Regions from separate parts of the Homo sapiens genome. Here region 2 is linked to region 1. Evidence: promoter capture Hi-C in human tissues and cell types (Jung and others, 2019). All regions are on one chromosome and are shown on one strand. Each heading gives the region's core, a stretch centred on a gene start or on the middle of the fragment in contact. The rest is flanking DNA. Distances are from core to core; before and after follow the strand shown.

Region 1 (5,867 bases), core at 3,194-5,693:
TGTTGGGAAGGAAATGTCTCTTTGGGGCTACCGCAGGGCCGGTGGCGCCCTCAATGAGGTGATGGTTTCTACCGTCGGGAGAGGCAGCATCTGGGCACGGGGACAAAGTGAATGCGCAGACTGGACCCCACCTCTTCGATTTCAAAGCACTTAAAAATAGTACTCTGGCGTGCGAGCGGCTTCTAGGACACGGTGATTTCCTCCTGTTCCTCGCCCTCCTCTTCCTCCTCGGAATCTGAGAAGTCCGAAGGTTTCCCGGGACTGCTCGAGTGCGCGGGCGAGGGGGGCAGCGGCCCTGGCAGCCGCGGGTCCCGCAGGTGCTGGGGGTCGGAGGACGCGTGGTAGGCCAGGCGGTGGCTGGGGCTGCCCGGGCCCTCCTCCTCCTCTTCGTTCCCAGGGCCCTTCTGGCCCACGTCGCTGAGGTCCGGGTGCGGATTGAGCTTGGTGGGCAGGGTCTGCTCGCGACAGCCCCCGCTAGACAGGAGTTCGCGCTCCTTGGAGTTCCGCCATTTCATGCGTCGGTTCTGGAACCAGATTTTCACCTGGAATGTCCCGGCCGGCGAGAAGAAGGGAGAAGCAGAGGTCAGATCAGGGGCTCCGGGGGACGCACGGGGGCGGGGAGTGGAGTCGGGTGCAGGCTCTGTCCTTCGGGCTGTGTCCTCTCCCCACCCCCAGAAATGAGTTCCGGTGGATTCCCGCATTGACTCCGCCCCCGCCTCAGCTCGCGGTTCCGTTTGCCTCATCCGCTGCCACCCTGCCCCGAAGGGCGGGGTTGGGGGCCGGTGAGGCCGGGAGAGAAGGCGGGGAGTCGGGGTGGGGAGAGAAGAGGGCTATCCTGCGGAGCTTCGAGGGTAGTGGCCCGTGTACTCACTCCCTCTCTAGGCCTCGGTTTTCCCATCTGTACAGTGGGACCTAAGCCGTTTCCGAACCCTTGCAATTGACGGGTGCGCCGGGGAGGGGTGAAGGGCGGGGGCGGGGGGGGTGCTGTGGAGGAAATGCGCTCACCTGCGAGTCTTTCAGGCCCAGCTTGGCCGCCAGCTTCTTGCGGTCGGGCTTGCTGATGTACTTCTGCTTCTGGAACATCTTCTCCAGCGCCTTCCGCTGCACGTCGGAGAAGACTGCTCGACGCAGCATGCCCCGCCGAGGCTTCCCGCGCGCGGCCAGCGGCCAGGAGAAGGTCCCGGGGATGGGCACCACGCTGGAGGAAGCTGCAGGGTGGGGGGAGGTGGCGAGTGAGTGGGCGTACGCCCCCCAGTCCCAACACGGCTCTCCCTGGCTTTTTGCTCTGATCCCTTCATCTCTTTAAAACGCTCCTTTTTCTCCCCCTGGAGAATAGGCCACGAACCTACAAACCTGCGAGAGTGAAAGGCGCTTTCCGCCCAAACAACTTTCCCTTTCAACCGTGCAAACCCGGATTAGGTAAAACCACGGAAACAGAGAAAACAGCCCCCACAATAGCCTGTTTCGTTTTTCCATTCAGTGGACTTAGGGAAACAAACCTGCGTACATCAACTAAAACAGCAATAGAAAAAATAAATTACTAAAATAAAAATAAAATATCCAGCCGAGGCCACTGTGTTTCTCCCCTAAGCTTTTATCATTTCAGTGGCTTTTGCATTCTTTAGATGAAAATGAGGTGCTTTACTATTTTGATAAAGAGGGAAAAATCCGATTTAGATTTTTTGAAAAATCCAATAAGTATTCATCTTTTTTATATTAATCCTTCCTCCCCTCCCCCACGAAACGTAAAGAATTCGGCCCGAATACATGAAAAGTGGCAGCTAATTAGCACATTGACTGCTTCCCAATGGGTATTGGTATGATAAAAGGGGGGAGAGTTTTGCTTTAAGCGAAAGAAAAAAACAAAACAAAAAGAAACAGAGACTCTAATGAAGCGTGAATGGTAATTGTGTAGTAATGAACTAACAGAAAAAGACTGAGGACAAGCAGCGAAAGCCATATATTACTGGGACAAAAGAGATTTACACTTTCAAACTAAACACAACTGCAGGCCAAGACCATTGGGAGAATACTGATGGCAGAAGCTTCTCTTCCCCGAATCGTTTTCATTAAATGGACATGAAAAGCTATTTATAAAGCTCGGGTTGTTTTTGTTAGAGCATTGAGATGAGGGAGAAAGGGAGCAAATTCCATTATTAGCAGCAGTGTGAATGGTGGTGGTGGTGGTGGTGGTGGTGGTGGTGGTGGTGCTGGGGGGTGGGGGGAGGGCGAATTATCTCTCCCCTTTAAAAAATCAATTGCTTGTTTCTTTTGCTGATATTTGGGAGTGCTGTCGTGATTTTACCCATCCCCCGCAGGCCATACCCAGTTTTTCTTCTCTGTATAGGGACTCTCCTGCCTCCTTTTTAGTTTTGACCAGTGGCAGAGTTTTTGAGCCATAGTTTGAATCATCAGTGAGGTTACAGGAAGAAAACCTGGTGGAAGCTGCCTAAGGTGTTGCTGTTTTAGGCTGGGACACAATTATGGGCTTTCTTCTAACTGCTTCTTATTTTGCAAGATCAACGGTATTTTATAATACAGGGTGGGAAAGGAGTATGAGAAGGGGTTTGGAAATCAGGCTGGAAATAGGTTGGGATTGGGGGAGGATCTAATCCCCCTCCCCCTGGGCGACCCTAGGCATCCCACACAAGAGGGCACCCCATGTGGTCTTGTGAAAAGCCCGAAGCCCTGAATGAGTCTTAAAGAGAAATTAGCCCCGGCTGGTAGGTGTCTCTCGGCGGCGTGGAGGGACTAGGGCCGGTCTGTGTGTGGCTGCCCGGAGGAGCTGACCAATTGGTCATGGTGCTGAAACCTTTGTGGGGAATCGTGGCCAAGTGCACTGACTCTGTGGGAAAACGGCGGCGTGAAGGGATGCCAACAGCTCCTCGCCGGGAAGGGAACCGCCTCAAATTGGGACCATGACAATTCCTGCTAATTTGTAGAGCAGGGAATTGGTGCAAAGTGTCAAGCAGTCACTGCTTGTGCTCAATAGGGCATCAAATTGGCGCGACGGATTCATGAATGTTATACGCCTCGCAACCTCTGAACCAGAGCATAACCCCGAGGGGTGGACGGAGAAATACGGCTTCGGAGCAGGGAGCGATGGGCCGGGGCTGGGGCGCCGCCCTGCCTCGCGCAAAGAAGGGGGACGAGACCTACCTGGGAAATAAGAAGATCTGATGAAAGGCTGAAAAGACCCTTCGAAGTAGGGAAAGGCGAAGGTCTTGGGAGGGACGCTCTGGAGCAAGGCTGGGGATGTTTCTGGTGGGCGATGGAGGGGGGACAGAAGGAGAGAGGGAGACAGAAAGAATCTGATTACGTACTTGCCTATTGTATAGCACACTGAACACACGATATAATTAGCCCTTCATCTGGTTTCAAAGACATCTTTCTTATACGTTGACAGGGTAAAATAAATCTTCCCAACATTGTCTTATCTGTAAAACTCTTTTCTTTCTCCCCAACGTAATTCTCTGCGCCGTCCCACTCTACCCCAATCTCCATCCTAGGCACTAACGAGATAGGACTGAGTGGGGAGGAAAGAAATTGCAGATTTATAATATTTGCTAATCCAATAAATATATCATATTGAGTTTAAAAAAAAAAACTGTCTCCTAGAAGCTCGAAGGCAGAAACGCAGACGTCCAGGAGCGTGCGCTCAGCGTTACTGCACCAGATGACTGCGCACAGTCTCCGACTGCGTGTGCTCAAGTTCACTCCGAGGATGGGGCGAGCCTGGAGGCTTTTCTTCCCCGGAATTGACTGGACTATTCTCACATTGCCTGACGTAGGGTCTCAGAGTTCGTGCGTATTGTGTGTGCACCGATGTGTGTGTGGGGGCCCGCTCGCTAGAGGAAACTGAGGCCAGGATGACTCCGCGCATGCCTAGTACCTGAATGGGCCCTTAGGGTTCTGACCTCGCTTACCTGTTCTGGGCCCCGAGGAGAGGATGGCGTTCACTCCAAACTTCAGAAACGTCGTCTCGCTGGCAGGGGAGAAGGCAGTCGGCGGAGAGCCGCCCCGTCGGCTGCCGGGACCCGGGGAGCCCAGGTCCGAGGCCCCCGTGTCGGTGAGGGCCGTGGGGGCCCCCTGCCTGGGCGGCGACATGCTGGCGGTGGGCACGCTGCGGGGCAGGTAGGCGGGGGGTCGGCTGATGCGGATCAGATCCTCCACCAGGAAGCTGGAGTGGCCGGAAAATGCCGACTGCAAGGACTGGGGCAGCGTCAAGGTGGGCGTGGGCCGCAGGAGGCTAGGGTACCCGGCGGGGGGCGCGAGGAGGCCGGGGAACATCATGGTAGGCGCGGGCGGGCGAAATAACCCTTCTTTCAGTGGCCGGAGGGTAAACGCCTCGCTTCCCGCCCCTCCCGCCCCCACAGTGTCCTCTCTCTTGGGCTTAGCAAACGTCTCCAAGTAACAATCCCACTTGGGCGTCTGCGAGTCCTCCGTGGTCCTCTCGTCGAGGTGATGGTTTTATAGTGGCCCGCCCGCTAAAGCACTTTGAAAAGTGACAGCTCTGACAATGAAGTTCAACAAAGTTCTCCACTCGAGCTTCATTCGCCGGAGGCTCTGGACTCTCTGATTGGCGCAGGGGTGCAATTTATGATTGGATTAGTCTTCATAAGCATGGCCCGCACAATGGGCCGGCAACAAAGGCCCGCGCGCATCAATTTTGCATATCGACCGCCTCTTTGCAATACAGTGCGCCCCCAAAGCTCTCGCCAAAGGTTTTTGTTCCGAAGCAACACCCGGGCTAATTAAATGCCTATTTAGAAGTTTCAGATGACATCTTGCCTCATAGAAAAGGAATTATTTAAAGAACCCACTAAATTTATTTGCAGCTCCCCTGCTAAGCCTGGAAAATAAATCAATAAATATTCATAGAAATACATCTTCAGGCTATCAGCAAAGTTGCCCTCCCTCTTGTGGGGGTAGGGCAATGAAAAGTTTCAAGTCAGTGGACATGAAAATATACTCCCTTTCCGGTCTCTAGCCCTATCCGTTACTCCAGCTGAAGCATAAAGCAAATGTAGGGGTGAGTGAAATCAGTGTTAGAAGTCCCATTCTGACGACTCAGGGAAACTTGGAAACGGATGCTTTGGGGCCACTGGATGTGTGTCCGTAAGAGTGGGGAGAGGTCTGGAGTTATTTCATTTCGGGAGACTGGTTGAGTTTGAGCGTTGGTGGATACCTGAAAAGTAAAACGAGTCTCCTTCAAATTCCCAGCAACTTGGAAAACGATTTTCTCTAGGAGTTTCTGCAAGGGGCTGTCCGCACCTCACCTTGCGGGAGGAGCGGAGGAGAGCGGCGCTGGGCTGCCGAGCGGCAGGATTCCGCTTGCAAAGAGCTTAGGCTGACCGGAAACTGCCTCGGGCAAGGGTATCCAAAGGCTGTGAGTGCTATGCTGGCCGTTCTCCAAACACAGGGAGCTCTCGGCAGTTTAAGTTGAAACTCACAGCCCTGACATTTTAAGCCATAGCAGCGAAGGTCCAGACGTCGTCTGGAGAGAACCCTACCACTTGCGGGGCCCTTAACTTGGCCCAAGGTTTGGCAGCTTCTTAATTAACTACAACGCACAAACGCGTGAAAACCAGAGGGAAGGGATGCGGTTCCCAAGAATGTTGGTCCACTCCGGGAAAGCCTCCCCTGAATGTGGGGCTTCAAAGGAGAATCTTCCTGGAGACAGTCCCTTCGCTTTCCTCTGGTTGGGGCTGAGGTGGTACTAAGACTCGATTCCCCCCATTTCTCTGTTCGGCGAGATAACAGATGTGTTAAATGTCCCATTCATCTCTTTAGTGTGGCTGAACCTCCCCAAAGAGAAGTGTGCAGCCCCGCCAGGCCGCCCTGATCCTATTAACCATGAACTAACT
Region 2 (5,728 bases), core at 2,206-4,705, 53 kb after region 1:
CTCCGGTGGATAGATTATGGGGAAAAAATGTATATTTTTAACAAACTTCTCAGAGTGCTATGAAGGCCCCCAAATCTGATTTTTTTCCTATGCCACTGGTTGCTGCTTCTGAGCCTTACAGATTCCTTTTTAAAATTTAAAATTTATTTTTAGTTGATAAATAATTGTATGTGTGTATGGAGTACAGTGTGATGTTTTGATCTATGTACACATTATAGAAAGAGTCACTTGAGCTAATTAACAGATGCCTTTTCATTTCCCTGACCTCAAAATGTTGGAGAGCCCCATGGCTCAGTCTTGAGTACTGTTCTTTTTAGGCTTCACCTCCTGGGTGCACTCCTCCAGCCTTGTAGGTTTCTACTAGACACCCAGAGTTATACCTCCAGCTCAGTGTCCCCCTGAACCCTAGACTCTCTGTATATCTATTTGCTTGCTTGGTATCTCCACTTGGCCTTGGTCTTTGGTTTGGGGTATTCTCTCCCCAGGTATCAGAGAGAAGGCCAGTGTGCCTGGAGCATGACATGCTATGGAAGAACAGTAGATAAGGCTGGAGTGGAAGACAAAAGCCAGCTCATGTAGAGCCCCTTAGGCCATAGGAAGGAGCCTAGGTTTTATTTGAAGTGACTTTGGGTGGTTTTAAAAAGTTCAGAGAGTTGGGGAGACATTACTTGATCTATTTAAGGTTTTAAAAGGACACTCGGGCTGTCATTAGAAGAAGAAATTGTAGAAGGGCAAGAAATGCAGAAGATGGCAGAGCAGTTAGGAGTCTTTTGCAGTAGTCCAGGCAAGAGATAATTGTGGCTTAGTCAAAGGGAAAGGAGTGGGCAGTGGGGATAATTTTGAAAGGATGGGATTTAGAGCAGGAGGAACAAAAATCAGGATGACTCCCAGGTTTTTGGTTTAGTAATTTAGATGGGGGTGCCATTTACTGAGAGAAGTAGAAGACTGTTTTCTATCCATTTTCGTGTCATAACACATATACTAATTGATAATATTTGTAAGATTTAGCTGGATAAACTAGAGGAGATTTGCAGATGTCTAAGGTGAAATTTTTCACTGTTTTTCTATATATGATACGATTATAAGAAAAATCAAATACAAAGTATTAGGAAGGATTTAAATCTCAAATATGTAACACAAGTAAATACGTCAAAAATATATTTCAAATAAAATCTCTTAAAAATGTGATGAGAAACTTGTTTGGGAATATTGCTTGGGAACAAGGGGGAACATTGCTTCAATGATCAAGACTTGAAAAAAAAATGGTTTTAAGCTTGAAATAGCTTATACAATTCTAACAAAGACTACTTAACAATAAGCTCTTAAAATTCCTGAAAAACACAATCAGTGAAAACTTGTATTCACACAGGAAACATAAGTTAAACTATTTTTATCATCATTCAAAAATTTTAATAATTGCAGTTAAATTTTAGAACTTTTAGTGCTAAAATCTTTGGTATTTTAAATGAATTTCAAATCCAATCAAATGTTTTCATTTACTGTATTTATGTGTTCATTCAACAAATATTTATTGAAGATTACTATGTTCAGGTACTGTTCTAGCCACATAAATACGAAGCACTTCAAAATAATGAAACTCTAATTTGCAGAGTCTGCTTGCCTAACACACCAGCTCATTTGTTACAATATGTCATCTGACATATGGGAAAGGAGAGGGTAGAAACCACCACCTGGAGATGCACCTGTGTGGTCTCTAGCTCCCGCCTCCTTGGTCTGTAGCTCTCTACAGAGGTCTCCCGCCCTCTAGCTCTGGGCTCTTTGGGCACCTGAAATTCCTCTAGTATCTCCGTGGGTGCCCTGCAGCTGACTGTGAAAGGAGAAATCCAGGCCATGCTCAACTCACTGGGTGCTTGAGTAGATCCCATAAAGCCAGAGGTTGCTATCCCAGGGCCTCTAGTGGCCACCCTCACAGCCTAACATGATGCTACCGGTGGGTGCCACAGCACATTGGGTAAGGTACTCTGACCCAACCAGTTCTAGTCAATGAGCAGAACTGTTATGAACTGACTTGTGTCCTCCCAAAATTCATATGTTGAAGCCATAACTTCCAATGTGACTATATTTGGAGAAAGGGTCTTTAAGGAGGTAACTAAAGTTAAATGAAGTCATAGGGCTGGGGCCCTAATTCAATGTGACTGGTGTTCTTCTAAGAAAAGGGAGAGACACCAGGGATGCAAGCCCAAAGAGCAAAGGCCAAGTGAGGACACAGCAAGAAGGCGGCCCTCTGCAAGCCAAGGAGAGAGGCCTCAGGGGAAACCAAACTTGCCAGCACTCATCTCTCGGACTTCCAGCCCCTAGAACTATGAGAAAATAAATTTCTGTTGTTTAACCCACTGAGTCTAAGGTATTTTATTATGGCACCCCCCAGCAGACTAATACAAGAATGGAGCCAAATGCAGTGGTTTTCAATCTTGGCTCCCTATTAGGATCACTGAGGAGCTTTAGGCAAATGCCTGGGTTCTACCCTCAGAAATTCTGATTTGATTGGCCAGCTGTGTAACCTGCCTATCAGGACACTTAAAAAGTTCCACAGGTGAGCCTAATGTGCAGGCAAGGTAAGAATCACTGGGGCAATAGATAGAAATTTTAAGGAGACAGATTTAATTCTTTCTGAAAATAATCCAAACCTTTGTCTTGGGTCAACTAATTAGCACCTGGTATTAATCCAAAGCATCAGGATTAAAACCAAGGCTCAGTTCTGAGCCCAACACGGTTCTGTTGGCCTTAATTTGGTGTTCCTCAATTCTGACAGCCCAGTGAATACCACCTTTTCAAAAGGGTGTTTTTGTCGAGCGGCCAGAATGCAAAAGGTCCTAAGGAAGTGTCCAGGCGCTTTCTGCGTGAGCTGCGTGCAGGGGCGGGCTCCGGCCCCTTCTAAAGCTGCCCCCGCAGTCCCTTCCTGACGTCCAGAAAACCCTTAATGTGCCCCTTTTGCCCGTGATTCTGTCTCTTGTTTGACCTTCGTTAGCCTTTTTACCATTTCTGGTCCCGGTGCAGTGACTCACGCCTGTAATCCCAGCACTTTGGGAGTCCGAGGAGGGCGTATCATCTGAGGTCAGGAGTTTGAGACCAGCCTGGCCAATATGGTGAAACCCTGTCTCTACTAGAAATACAAAAATTAGCCAGGCGTGGTGGCTTGCGCCTGTAGTCCCAGCTACTCGGGAGGCTGAGGTAGAAAAATCGCTTGAACCCGGGAGGCAGAGGTTGCAATGAGCTGAGATCGTGCCACTGCACCCTAGCCTGGGTAACAGAGCAAGACTGTGTTTCAAAAAAAAAAAAAAAAAAAAATTGTGAGACTTTCATCCTGAAAAGTATTTAAGCAGAGATTGGAAATAGTGTAGGGGTTTTGGGGGAGAGTTTGGACCAGATGACCAGGATGCCATTCCTACCGGCAGATGAACATCCATGTCATCACCCTCAACATGCATTCTCACTTCCACCTGACCCCACACTTGAGCACCCTGGATTGATATCTTACTGTGTCATTTCTGATCCCCACCACTTATTTTCTCAGTTGCCTTATTTGGGTGTGTTTCTCTGTGGACTTCCAGGTCCTTACCATTAAAAGAAGAGGCTAAACTTGATGTGTTCTAAGGTCTTTTCCAGATATCAGATTTCTTAATTTTAACCAAATAAAAATATAGCTTCCTGACTGTAATAGGAGATGAGAATTAAGCTGGCCACTTCAAGCCATATCAAGTTCCTCTCTAAGAGAAAGACAGATTTAGCCAATGAGCTATGCTTATTTCTACACAAATTGAATTAGTGGAAACTGAAAGCATCACCTGCTGGAGCTGGCCATGACAGATAAAGGCTTTCTTAGAATGACTGCCTGGGAAAGCATACATGTATCATGAGTACACCTGCCAGCCTCGTTTGTAGTTTTTTTGCTGCTAGATGCTTACCATCCTATAAGTCAGCACAGAAGAGAAAAGCAGTATTGGGCATGAGGATTATCTCTATATACCCTCTAATCAGTGCTAAAAACTGTGGACTCTTAGGGAAGGGGAGACATCAGAGGCCTTTCTGCTGTTAACCCTTAGGGCCTTGCCTGGAATGTGCCTTCCAGTATATTTTGTTCCTGATGGCCATGGATTTGGGGTCTCAGCCTGCTCTTGGGACTTAGGGTCCTGCCCCTAGCCCTTCCCTTTGAGATTCTCCCTTTCCTAAGTACAATTGCAGTCAGGTGCATCTCACTCTTTTGCACATTTTATGCCACATCTGAAACTAGACATAATACTTTGGCATTGAACAGTTTTATCACTGCTAATGTGCAGAAACGGGGAAAGTAACAAAAGTGGTCAACTTGAACATAGTGCAGTGATTTTAAGTCTTACAGGATTTTGGAATCAAAGCCTATGAACTAGTGTTCTTGCTTCTTTCTGAGATGAAAACTAAAAACTCAGCTGCACTTTCATCCTCTGCATTTATCATCATCAGAATGGACATCACCAACTGTCCCTTCTCCCTGCAGACCTCTCAGATACCATCAGTCAGGATACTCCAGAGAAACAGACCAATTAGATAAATAGATTAGATTAGACAATTGCTATAAATATAGATGTAGATAGATACACATGTATACATATACATATGTATTTATATATATATACATACACATATATGTGTGTTAAGATATTTATTTTTAAAAATTGGCTCATGAGATTGTGGAAGCTGCAAGTTTGAAATCTATAGGGCAGACTGCCAGGCTGGAAACTAAGGTAGGAGTTGTTGTTATTGAATTCTTGAATTCTCAAGAATTCAGTCTTGAGACTGAATTTCTTCTTTGGGAAACTGCAGTTTTTGCTTTTAAGGCTTTCAACTGATTAGATGAGGGTCATCCATATTATTGAGGGCAATCTCTTTTATTTAAAGTGAACTGATTATATATCATAATCACATCTACAGAACATACAGCAATATCTAGCTTGGAGTTTGATTAAATAAGTGGTTGCTATAGCCTAGCTAAGTTGACACATAAAGCTAGCTATCACAGACACTAAGTGGCTAGCAACTTCTGGGTCCAACGTTTGCTTTGTGCTTGGTAATCTCTTGGGCTTTGGGAAAAAAACATATCTGGCCTTGGTTTCTTTTTCTTCAATGATCTGGCCTGTCTGTGGACATTGCCCCATTGAAAAACTGGTTTTGGAGGTCAAAGCCAAAGAGGCTTGGTACCGTAGAATGATATCGATGAAAAGGACTTGAAAAATGACCTATTCAAGCCCCTCAACTTACAAATAAGGAGATGGAAGCCTAACAAGGAGAGGCTATTTAAAGCCATTTATAATGACAATAGTCAAGAGACTGTGACCTGTGATCACACAAGGTCACTAGAGCCTTGAAATGCCTCGTAACAATAATTGCCATGTTTTCCTAAACATAGCACTCGGGGACCATGTGCTGGCCTGGGCGTGGGCGCCATCAGGCATATCATCAGCAGTGTTCACCAGTTGCCTACAAAAGAGGCTTCTGGAGATTAGGCCTTAGCTAGATTACAACCCGTTGGCATCTAGTGAATGTCATGTACTCCGAAAGCAGAAACACACTGGATGATGTTAAAATAAAACCATATAAGAGAAAAGGTGGAACTCTTCTGAGGAAAGAGGGAGGAAAATAGGTGACTGATCAGGGAGATCATGCCAGAGCTTTAGAGCCTCCCTGCATTGTTCACAACTGGATTGGCCACCTCTTTGGCAGCCATTACGTG

The links. The method cuts DNA at HindIII sites, captures the fragments that hold promoters and counts their contacts. A contact is called where the count stands out against the background at its distance.
Region 2: a fragment that was not itself captured here is called in contact with the fragment with the promoter of DBX1 in region 1 in 2 of the 25 tissues and cell types used here (liver and mesendoderm cells).

The regions. Positions count from the first base shown.
Region 1 is chr11:20,156,032-20,161,898 of GRCh38, forward strand. It overlaps DBX1 (developing brain homeobox 1), which reads right to left and starts at 4,444. Exons shown (of 4, transcript NM_001029865.4): 1 at 3,927-4,444; 2 at 3,160-3,261; 3 at 1,006-1,208; 4 at 124-542. The coding sequence starts at 4,293. The coding sequence ends at 183. RefSeq lists enhancers at 239-1,438, 4,824-5,325, 5,326-5,825. The HindIII fragment of the contact is 9,910 bases long and covers 1,819-5,867 here.
Region 2 is chr11:20,210,185-20,215,912 of GRCh38, forward strand. No RefSeq gene overlaps it. Among named protein-coding and RNA genes, the nearest start is that of DBX1, 53 kb to the left of the region's middle. RefSeq lists a silencer at 3,187-3,417. The HindIII fragment of the contact is 7,499 bases long and covers 1-5,728 here.